Linked DNA regions of Homo sapiens: regions 1 and 2 are each linked to region 3. Evidence: promoter capture Hi-C in human tissues and cell types (Jung and others, 2019). All regions are on one chromosome and are shown on one strand. The core of a region is centred on a gene start or on the middle of the fragment in contact, and the rest is flanking DNA. Distances in the headings are between cores, read along the strand shown. Region 1 has its middle 37 kb from the start of MED13. Region 2 overlaps MED13 (mediator complex subunit 13). Region 3 holds the start of INTS2 (integrator complex subunit 2).

The links. The method cuts DNA at HindIII sites, captures the fragments that hold promoters and counts their contacts. A contact is called where the count stands out against the background at its distance.
Region 1: a contact is called between a fragment that was not itself captured here and the fragment with the promoter of INTS2 in region 3, in 1 of the 25 tissues and cell types used here (lymphoblastoid cells).
Region 2: a contact is called between a fragment that was not itself captured here and the fragment with the promoter of INTS2 in region 3, in 5 of the 25 tissues and cell types used here (bladder, dorsolateral prefrontal cortex, liver and 2 more).

Annotation. Positions count from the first base shown.
Region 1 is chr17:62,101,153-62,104,218 of GRCh38, reverse strand. No RefSeq gene overlaps it. Among named protein-coding and RNA genes, the nearest start is that of MED13, 37 kb to the right of the region's middle. RefSeq lists an enhancer at 2,702-3,066. The HindIII fragment of the contact is 7,276 bases long and covers 1-3,066 here.
Region 2 is chr17:62,056,615-62,059,715 of GRCh38, reverse strand. All of the region lies in intron 2 of MED13 (mediator complex subunit 13), which reads left to right. Among named protein-coding and RNA genes, the nearest start is that of MED13, 7.1 kb to the left of the region's middle. The HindIII fragment of the contact is 7,913 bases long and covers 1-3,101 here.
Region 3 is chr17:61,926,498-61,929,563 of GRCh38, reverse strand. It overlaps INTS2 (integrator complex subunit 2), which reads left to right and starts at 1,582. Exons shown (of 25, transcript NM_001351695.2): 1 at 1,582-1,910; 2 at 2,902-3,066. The coding sequence starts at 2,920. RefSeq lists a silencer at 1,452-1,551. The HindIII fragment of the contact is 16,998 bases long and covers 1-3,066 here.

The sequences.
Region 1 (3,066 bases), core at 83-2,582, 170 kb before region 3:
AACTTCAAACTCTTGGGCTCAACCCATCCTCTCACCTCAGCCTCCCAAGTAGATAGGACTACAGGCACATACCACCATGCCCGGCTAATTTATTTTTATTTTAATTTTTTTAGACGGAGTCTTGCTCTGTCACCCAGGCTGGAGGGCAGTAGCATGATTTCAGCACACTGCAACCTCCATCTCCCGGGTTCAAGCAATTCTCCTGCCTCAGCCTCCCAAGCAGCCGGGACCACAGTCACGAACCACCACGCCCCGCTAATTTGTTGTATTTTTAGTAGAGACGGGGTTTCACCGTGTTGACCAGGCTGGTCTCGAACTCCTGGCCTCAAGTTATCTGCCTGCCTCGGCCTCCCAAAGTGCTGGGATTACAGGCATTAGCCACTGTGCCTGGCCAAAAGGGTTTTATTGTTTGCTTGTTTTTTGTTTTTTAAATTTGAACTTGACATTGTGAACATATCAGGTAAAGTTGAGCTCATCACATCTGAAAGATATGAACTGTCATTTTTGTATCTGAAGATGATATGCTATAACTATTCCTTCTGCTGATTTAGGCTTTGAGTTGCTTTACAAATTGTACTGGCAGATTTTCCTTGATCAACCTTCTGCCATCAGAGTCTGTATTAGTGAGAGTTCTTCAATCATACAAAACAGAAACAGACTGGATGACTTGAGTAGGAGAGAACTGTTTTGGGAGGATAATAGGTAGCAGATGGGACTCATGGGAAAGCTAGAGAGTCTGCTTGGAGGACAGGAAGCCGGGCAACTCTAGAGGTTAAGGTGGCTGGGGGCACAACGCTGGGACAATAGGTGCCAACCAGCTTTTAGTGTCTAGGTCGTGCCATTCAAGATTCAAATCTTTTTTTTTTTTTTCTGAGACAGCGCCTCACTTTGTCACCCAGGGTGGAGTGCAGTGGTGTGATCTCGGCTCACTGCAACCTTGACCTCCTGGGCTAAAGCGATCCTCTCACCTCAGCCCCGCAGGTAGCTGGGACTACAGGTGCACGCCACCAGGCCCAGCTAATTTTTTTGTATTTTTTTTGTAGAGCCAGGGTTTCGCCATGTTGCTCAGGCTGGTCTCAAACTCCTGTGCTCAAGTGATCCATCAGCCTTAGCCTCCCAAAGTGCTAGGATTACAGGTGTGAGCCACCGTGCCCAGCCCTAAGATTCAAATCTAAGGAAACAGTCTGTTCACCTCGCTCCCTGGCTAGGAAAGAACAAGGCAGTTTGATTTCTAGTCCCATCAAGACTGTACACCATAGAGGAAAGGTATTGTCCCAATCAGAGTGCTTTACCAAAATAAGCCCTGTGTGGCACTAGGGCTCGAAGCCCCAACTGCCCAAAGTGGATCTAGTCCTGAGCGTCCCAGGGACTCATGCTGTCCTTCAACGGCCTCTGTGACTATCCCAGGCTCTAATCTTGAATCCTCGCTACTCCTCCAGGCCAACAGGACCACCACATGTCATTGTCCTCTACCACTGAGGCTGGGGCTCTGGATATAGTGAGAAAGTTTCCTACAATTACAATCTTCATAGCCAACAGAAAATATCTTTTGTCTATGAAGAAATCATAGTTTTTAGGCCCCCAGAATGTCATGTGGATCTTTCAGATTTCAGTTCTCCACCTGAACTCTCTAAGTGAGAGTATTTGAGTGTCTGTATCATACTCAGAGATACTTGTCCTTGCCAAAGACACCAGTGTTCTAAACTTAGGGACTCTTTTTTTTTTTTTTTTGAGCCAGAGTCTCGCTCCGTCACCCAGGCTAGAGTGCAGTGGTATGATCTGGGCTCACTGCAACCTCTGCCTCTTGGGTTCAAACTATTCTCATGCCTCAGCCTCTCAAGTAGCTGGGGTTACAAGCGGTCGCCACCATGCCCAGCTAATTTTTGTATTTTTAGTAGAGATGGGGTTTCACCATGTTGGCCAGGCTGGTCTCAAACTCCTGGCGTTGTGACTCCTGACCTCAAGTGATCCGCCCACCTCGGCCTACCAAAGCACTGGGATTATAAGCGTGAGCCACCATGCCTGGCCTCCTTAGGGACATTTTTCATCTCCTTTCAGTCAACATCAGGTGACTTCTCCGCTTGATTATACAAGCCCCTCTTCAAAAGCTGTCCCTTTCCAGTGTCTCAGGGATTTTACTAGTCCCAAAATTTTCCAGACCATTTTCCTCATGAAACGAAGACTCCCGCTCATCTTTGGCATTCCAGAAACATCCAAATTGAGTCCCTAATGTGACAGAGTTTATGTATCAGCTTGGGATAGGGTGCACAAAGCATGTTTTGCATAAGAGGCTCTTTGTTGTGTTTAAAAGGCTAAACTTAGATCACAGGCCAGGGTACATGGTAGGGGTTGGGGTCAGCTCAGTGAAGATGAATTGCTTGAAACTTCAGCTTGAATTCTGTAGCAACAGAAAGCAACTAACTTGCCTTCCTGCTGCTTATGGTGCCAGCGCTTATGGTGCCATTCTGATAAGAATCAGCACAGTGGGAGTAAGGTCAAGAGTCCAGAGGACTCACAGGGCTGAGGAATATGTGTTACCGGCATTAAAACTCGAAATGCACTTTCCCACAGAAACACTTTTATAAATAGTGGTCAGGATCTTTAGTATTATGAGTACAATATTTCAGGTACATTACGGTTCTGTGAGCTTTTGTGGGCTGGCCTTGGGGCAGAGCCACCATTTGTAATATTGTTTCTATAGGAAAACTTGTTCCCAGTTCCAGACAACAGACCAATAAATAAACTAATAAGCTGGGGATTGCCTATTTTGAAGATTTTTGCCAGTGAATACAATAGATTCACAGGCTTTTACAGTCAGTCAAACTCAGCTTATAGACTTGTGGTCCAAGATGTTGGCCCTGAGCCCAGAAGCCCTCTACTGCCCCTTTGTCCTCTCTCTGCTGAACACTTTGATTTAATTCCCCTAAACCCCTAGAGTCCATTAACCACTACTGTCTCTATCCCCAGGTCCACCTGCAGGCATTCTGCTAAGGCAAAAGCTGAGTACCTCTCATTCTAAGCTTTGTCATTGAAATGTTTCAGGATTACAAAACATTTATGCCAGGT
Region 2 (3,101 bases), core at 336-2,835, 130 kb before region 3:
TTGGGGTAATTAGTCTGCCTCTGTCTCTCTAGCTAACCCCTTTTTCATTTCTTCCATCTGTGGCACTCTATTTCCTTCTTCTAAGCTCCCCTGAGAAGAGAGCAGCTGGACAGTACAGGGTAGCATCAGCTGCTGGAGGCAGTCCTGAGTTCCAAGTGGAGGTGTAGCACTGAGGAATGGGGTACCGGAAGGACCCAGGTGGTAACTAAAAAGCTGGTTAATTTAGCTTGAGCCTGCTCTTCACAGGCAGTGTCCTTCTGTTTGGTTCAGCACACACCACATCTTGTTACTGAAGTGTTTTTTATTATGGTGATAATATTGCCCTTGTTTTTCTTGGTAGTGAGGGAAGAGGGAAAGCATTTCTTTTTTCAAAGATTAGAATTCTCAGTTTTTCTTAACTGGAATATTCAGTAACAGAAATACAGAATTGCCTTTGTTTAACCCCCTTAGCTCCTTTGTGTCATGCAGTGTATTTTTAAAAATTAACTAATGAACCAATATTGATACTTTATTATTAACTAAAGTATATATTTGGATTTCCTTTATTTTTTTGCCTAATATGTTTTTCTTTTCTAGGATCTCATTTAAGATACCCCTATTACATTTAATTGTCATGTCTCCTTAGGCTTTGTTAGACTGTGACAGTTTCTCAGACTTTCTTTGGTTTTGATGATTTCGACAGTTCTGAAGAATCTGTTCAGATTCCATAGTGCATTTTAAATTTCATTTTCTCTTATGTCACTTAGCATTTGTTTGGGTTACCTTCCTTTCAAGTTTAGCTGATGTGTAGAAATAGAATGTAAACTTATTTTATTGCTAACTGGCAAAGATCAGTTACAGCAAATCACGTCTGATTTAATACATACTTTAAACCCTCAGTTACTCATTTTGTAGCAGTAAGTCAATACCGTTGAGCAAAGTAATTTGCAAAGGCTGGATGATTTTTGGATCAGGATTTGTGCTAACTAGTATTAGCCAAACTATAACATTCCAGAAGGTTATTTGTTCAAAAAATCTCTTGAATTCCAAAGCCAAACATAGATGATTTTCTTACTTTTTGCTTTATCCTCTATAGGATAATGATTAGTTGAATCGGGGTCGATATGTTTTGATACAAAAAGGATTAGGGAATAAAACTCCTTTGGGGTTACAGCTTTTTTCTTTCTTTCTTTCTTTTTTTTTTTTTTTTTTTTTTGAGATGAAGTCTCGCTCTGTCTCCCAGGCTGGAGTGTAGTGGGGCGATCTTGGCTCACTGCGACCTCCGCCTCCCAGGTTCAAGCGATCCTTCTGCCTCAGCCTCCCGAGTAGTTGGGACTACAGGCATGTGTCATCACGCCTGGCTAATTTTTGTATTTTTGGTAGAGATTTTAATAGGAGTTTCGCCATGTTGGCCAGGCTGGTCTGGAACTCCTGGCCTCAGGTGATCTGCCCGCCTCAGCCTCCCCAAGTGCTGGGATTACAGGCATGAGCCACCATGCCTGGCCCCTTTTTTTTAAAAATTGTATTTTGTAGCTTTGTTTAGTGGTTGTGTGATAGTGGGTGAAAGAGGTATAAAATGGGTGATGGGAAAATCTTAGCTCAGTCCCTCTGGTCAAGAATCTCTGTGGTGGGTAGGACTGGTACTTTTAAGTGTACTGTTAATTTGCTTCAGAGCAAGATTGTATCATTTTCATTAATGTGGTCTTGAAGGAGAGTTTTCTGTGTATTTTTATTCTGTGTTCTAACATTTTTGGAATTCAATTGCTGTCATCATTGGCTTTTATTCTTTCCCTTTAAATAAAAATAAAAGCAAACACTGCGTCCTCTCCCATTTGTCATCTTAAAAAAATCATAGCAAGTTAGACTGTGATGAGACTCTTTGAGAAAACTGATACCTTGTGAACTAAAAAAACTCAGGGCTAAAAATATTTGTTCTTTTTCCTGGCTCCTGAGGTCTGTAAAGTAGATTTTAGTAACATGTTCAGATAGTTTTATTATACCAGAATTTTATCATAATGAATAGTGCTCAAACTAAGTGGACTATTGTTCTGAATTTAATTTTGGATGTTTTAATTGAAGGATATTAACTGTAGTGGACTTTAACCTTAAATGACAGCTGTTAATAGGATTGACAGATAGATAAACAGCCAGGCATAGGAATCTAGTCCCAGCCAAACTAAAACATTGTTGTGTGCCCCACATAGTCTAAAGAGAGTAATTTATTTCTACTATTGTAAAATTTACTTGTGATGTGGCCCGACTCTTTAAATTGGCTAGTCTCCTAGGTGACAACTTCATTTGCTGTATTTCTTCTGCATACTGTTTTTTTGATCAAGTGTATCTTCTAAGTTTTCAAGCCAAACATAACATACTAGGCTGTTTTTAAATCAGTTTTCAAGTTTTGCCATAGATAATGATGCGGCCAACTTAAGGCTCTCGGTATATTTGTTGAATGTATAGGTTATTAATGATTATTCAGGAGAAACACTGATCTAGCATTTAAACATTTCTCTTTATTTCAGGAAATACATGGTATTTTCTACCATGTTAATTTTTGAGCCATTATTCATTAGCATATGTTACATTTTAATAGTTTTGCAAAATTGTATTGGAGAAGATTCATTTTTTACCACCGTGGAGATATTTAAAGATGCCATTTTTTTGAGAAAAATGTTGAGTGCAGGGTGTGTCTGCTTTTTTGGTTGTGATTTTTTTTCCCCATTGATAGAGAATTATTTTGATGACTTATCACATACTTTGGCACTACTGTAATCTGCATCTTCAGGAAAAAAATATGGTAATCAAATTTAGCATTTGTGTTTTCTTCCAATAAATAGTCCATAAAAATTTCAAGAAACACTGATGATTAAGAACTGTAATGCTAATAGTAACAGAAAAGTACTAAGAATGCAGAGTTGAACTTTATTTTCTCTGGACATAGAGCTACAAGAGAAGGAATTTTTTTTTCTTTTTTTTGTAGGGATGGAGGTCACACTTTGTCTCACTCAGCCTGCAGTGCTTAATCATAGCTCACTGCAGCCTCCGACTCCTGGACTCAAGCAATCCTCCCACCTCAGCTTCCCCAGCAGCTGGGCCTACAGGCATTGCCACTATGCCCTACT
Region 3 (3,066 bases), core at 333-2,832:
ATGTTTATATAGCATATAAATTTATACACTTACACTTATTTTTGTATGTGGATATATACATATGTTTTTTCTGGGTCACAATGTGAAATGTATTATTGTGGGTCAGGTGGAAAAAATTTTCAGAAGCATTGCAACACACAATTCTTTTCTTCCTTTGCTGATCTATGTTGAAAGTCATATATATATATATATTTTTGAGATGGAGTCTGGCTCTGTTGCCCAGGCTGGAGTGCGGTGGCATGATCTCTGCTCACTGAAACATCTGCCTCCTAGGTTCAAGTGATTTTCCTGTCTCAGCCTCCGAAGTAGCTGGGACTACAGGTGCTCCATCACCACGCTGGGGTAATTTTTTTTTTTTTTTTTTTTTTTTGAGACGGAGTTTCGCTCTTATTGCCTAGGCTGGAGTGCAATGGCACGATCTCAGCTCACCACAACCTCCGCCTCCCAGGTTCAAGCAATGCTCCCGCCTCAGCCTCCCAAGTAGCTGAGATTACAGGCGCACACCACCACGCCTGGCTAATTTTTGCATTTTTAGTAGAGGCGGAGTTTCACCATGTTGGTCAGGCTGGTCTCGAACTCCTGGCCTCGTGATCTGCCTGCCTCGGCCTCCCAAAGTGCTAGGATTACAGGCATGAGCCATCGTGCTCGGCCTAATTTTTATATTTTTTGTAGAGTTGGGGTTTAGTCATGTTGCGTCAGGCTGGTCTCGAACTCCTGACCTCAGGTGATCCGCCCGCCTCGGCTTCCCAAAGCGCTGGGATTACAGGCATGAGACACCACGCCCGGCTCTGACTTTATTTTTAAAGAGGTTATAAAGTGCTATATCTTTGTAAAATATTTTTATTTCCAGCTCCTAGCACAATATCTGGTAAATAGAAGTTGCCAAATAAACGTTGATCGAACTAGGAACAATAAATAGTATGAAGACATATGGACTAGCGGTTCTTCATATATAGACTAGTGGTTCTTTTCTGAGTGATCAGACTTCCTTTGAGAAGTTGTTGAAAGTTTTGGACCCTCTTCCCAGAAGAAGTGCCGAGCACTCAGTTCTGAACGGATTCCAGAGAATTCCTGAATCCCCGTGCATTGCCTCTCTAAGGTTCTATGGGTCCCCCAAGTTAAGAACCTGAAAGGAAGGTGTTTAACTTCTGACAGCGGAGGTGTGAGGTCAAGAGCGGAAGAAAGTTTGGGGTTAGATCACTTTTAAAATTCTCCCACAAATCCTGGGATTCTAGAATTTTGGTTCTGGGAAGGCACAGGCAAAGATTTAAAGAGTACAGTTTGGTACCACTAGTGTCAAAGAATAGTGGGAACGATTTTAACACACGTTATGCCATTTGAATGCCATGGCAATCCTGTGATGATGAAATTTAAGTTCTGAGGGGCTCAGTGGCTTGCTTGTCTAAAAGGAAGGAGCTGGTAGGCTCTGGAAATCAGAGCCTACCAGAATCACATTTCTAAATTTTTGGCGAACAAGTAGGGCAGGGCAAATAAAGTGGAGAAAGGGGCGGGGCCGCGCACGCGCACAGTTGCATTGGCGCCGACGTCTCTGCCTTTCCTCTCGCAGCCACCCTTCCTCTCAGACCAGTACGGTGGCCGACGGGAGTCAGACGCTGGGGATGAATGAAGGTGCTGGGTGCAGGTTGAAAAAGTCTCCCGCTTTTCCGTTCCTACAGTCCCGGTTCTGCCTTTGTGTGGTGCCCCCATCCTTCCCACTTTGTATCGACAACCCGGTTGGTCCCGGCGTCTGAGTTCTTGGTGTCCGAGTCGACTCGAGGCACAACTAGGGTTTGGGGTTCCGGATATCGCCTAGGCCCAACATCGGACCGCGCTCTCGATTTCTGCCGCGTCCCGCCTCTAGGACGCGGAGTCCGTGTGCGGTTCCGTGAGGCTGGAGGGTAGATCTTAAGGTATGAAGCGTCCGCTTCTCTGGCCTCAGCGCGTTCCTAGGTCCGTGTCGGAGCCTGGCCAGACTTTGCTCAGCCTGAGGGACTTATTGGTTCTAGTTGCGCCCGGGGCGAGACGGAGGAGCACGCAGGTCTTGGCTCCTCTGCTCCAGTCAGCCCGCCCCTCTGTTAAAAGAGCAGCCCCTCCCTGAAAGCAAAGCAGTTTTTACCCACGACTTTTACCCACGCTGCTGCTAGTCGGTCGGCCTTGAGAGGGGACTGCTTTGGCTGCCAGCTCACTGCCTTTTTGTTTACTTTTTGTGCCTTGGATGATTCCTGGAGACAGAGAAGTGCGCTAATGAGACGCGTCTTTCTCACATAGCACCCACACATCTGCTTTTTACCCGGTAACACAGGGGACATAGGATAGTGTTGTGGCCTCCAGAGCCTTGAATCTGGCATTGGTTCTGCCCAGTGATTTGCTAGTTTTTCCACCGACTCATGGAGGGTGAGAAAGAGAAGCCCAATAGTTCTTGATGTATATCGGGGTAGGCATGTGAAACTATCGGGGTATGAAAGAAAGCACTTAACTATGACCATTCACTTTTGTTTACATTTTGTGGAGCTCATGTGACTGATATAGTGGAGAAAGTCTTGGACTGGGATTTTAGTAGATGAGGATTCAGCCTTGGATTGTGCCTCTAACTAGTAATACTATTTTGGGCGTGTTACTTCATCTCTCTGGGCTTCATATTCCTTCTTTGTAAAATATGAGTATTAGAGCAGAAGATTCCTGAGGCTGGAAGAGACATTAATATACTCTGTTTTCTTTCCCATTTCCCAGGTGACAGTATAAACCTAGGGAGACAGAGAAGCCTTGTCTTGATTGTGCCAGGAACATTGCCAACATAGGGACCTATTAAAGATACACCACATTTTTCAGGGTTTTTAGAAAGTTGGGTGTTCATACATGTGAAAGTTAAACTCCTACTTTCATTTGTATTTTTACCATTAGGATCAACAAACAGTAATAATGACTGAATGTACAAGTCTTCAGTTTGTCAGCCCTTTTGCTTTTGAGGCAATGCAGAAGGTGGATGTTGTTTGCCTGGCATCTTTAAGTGATCCAGAATTAAGACTTCTTCTGCCCTGTTTGGTACGGATGGCACTTTGTGCACCT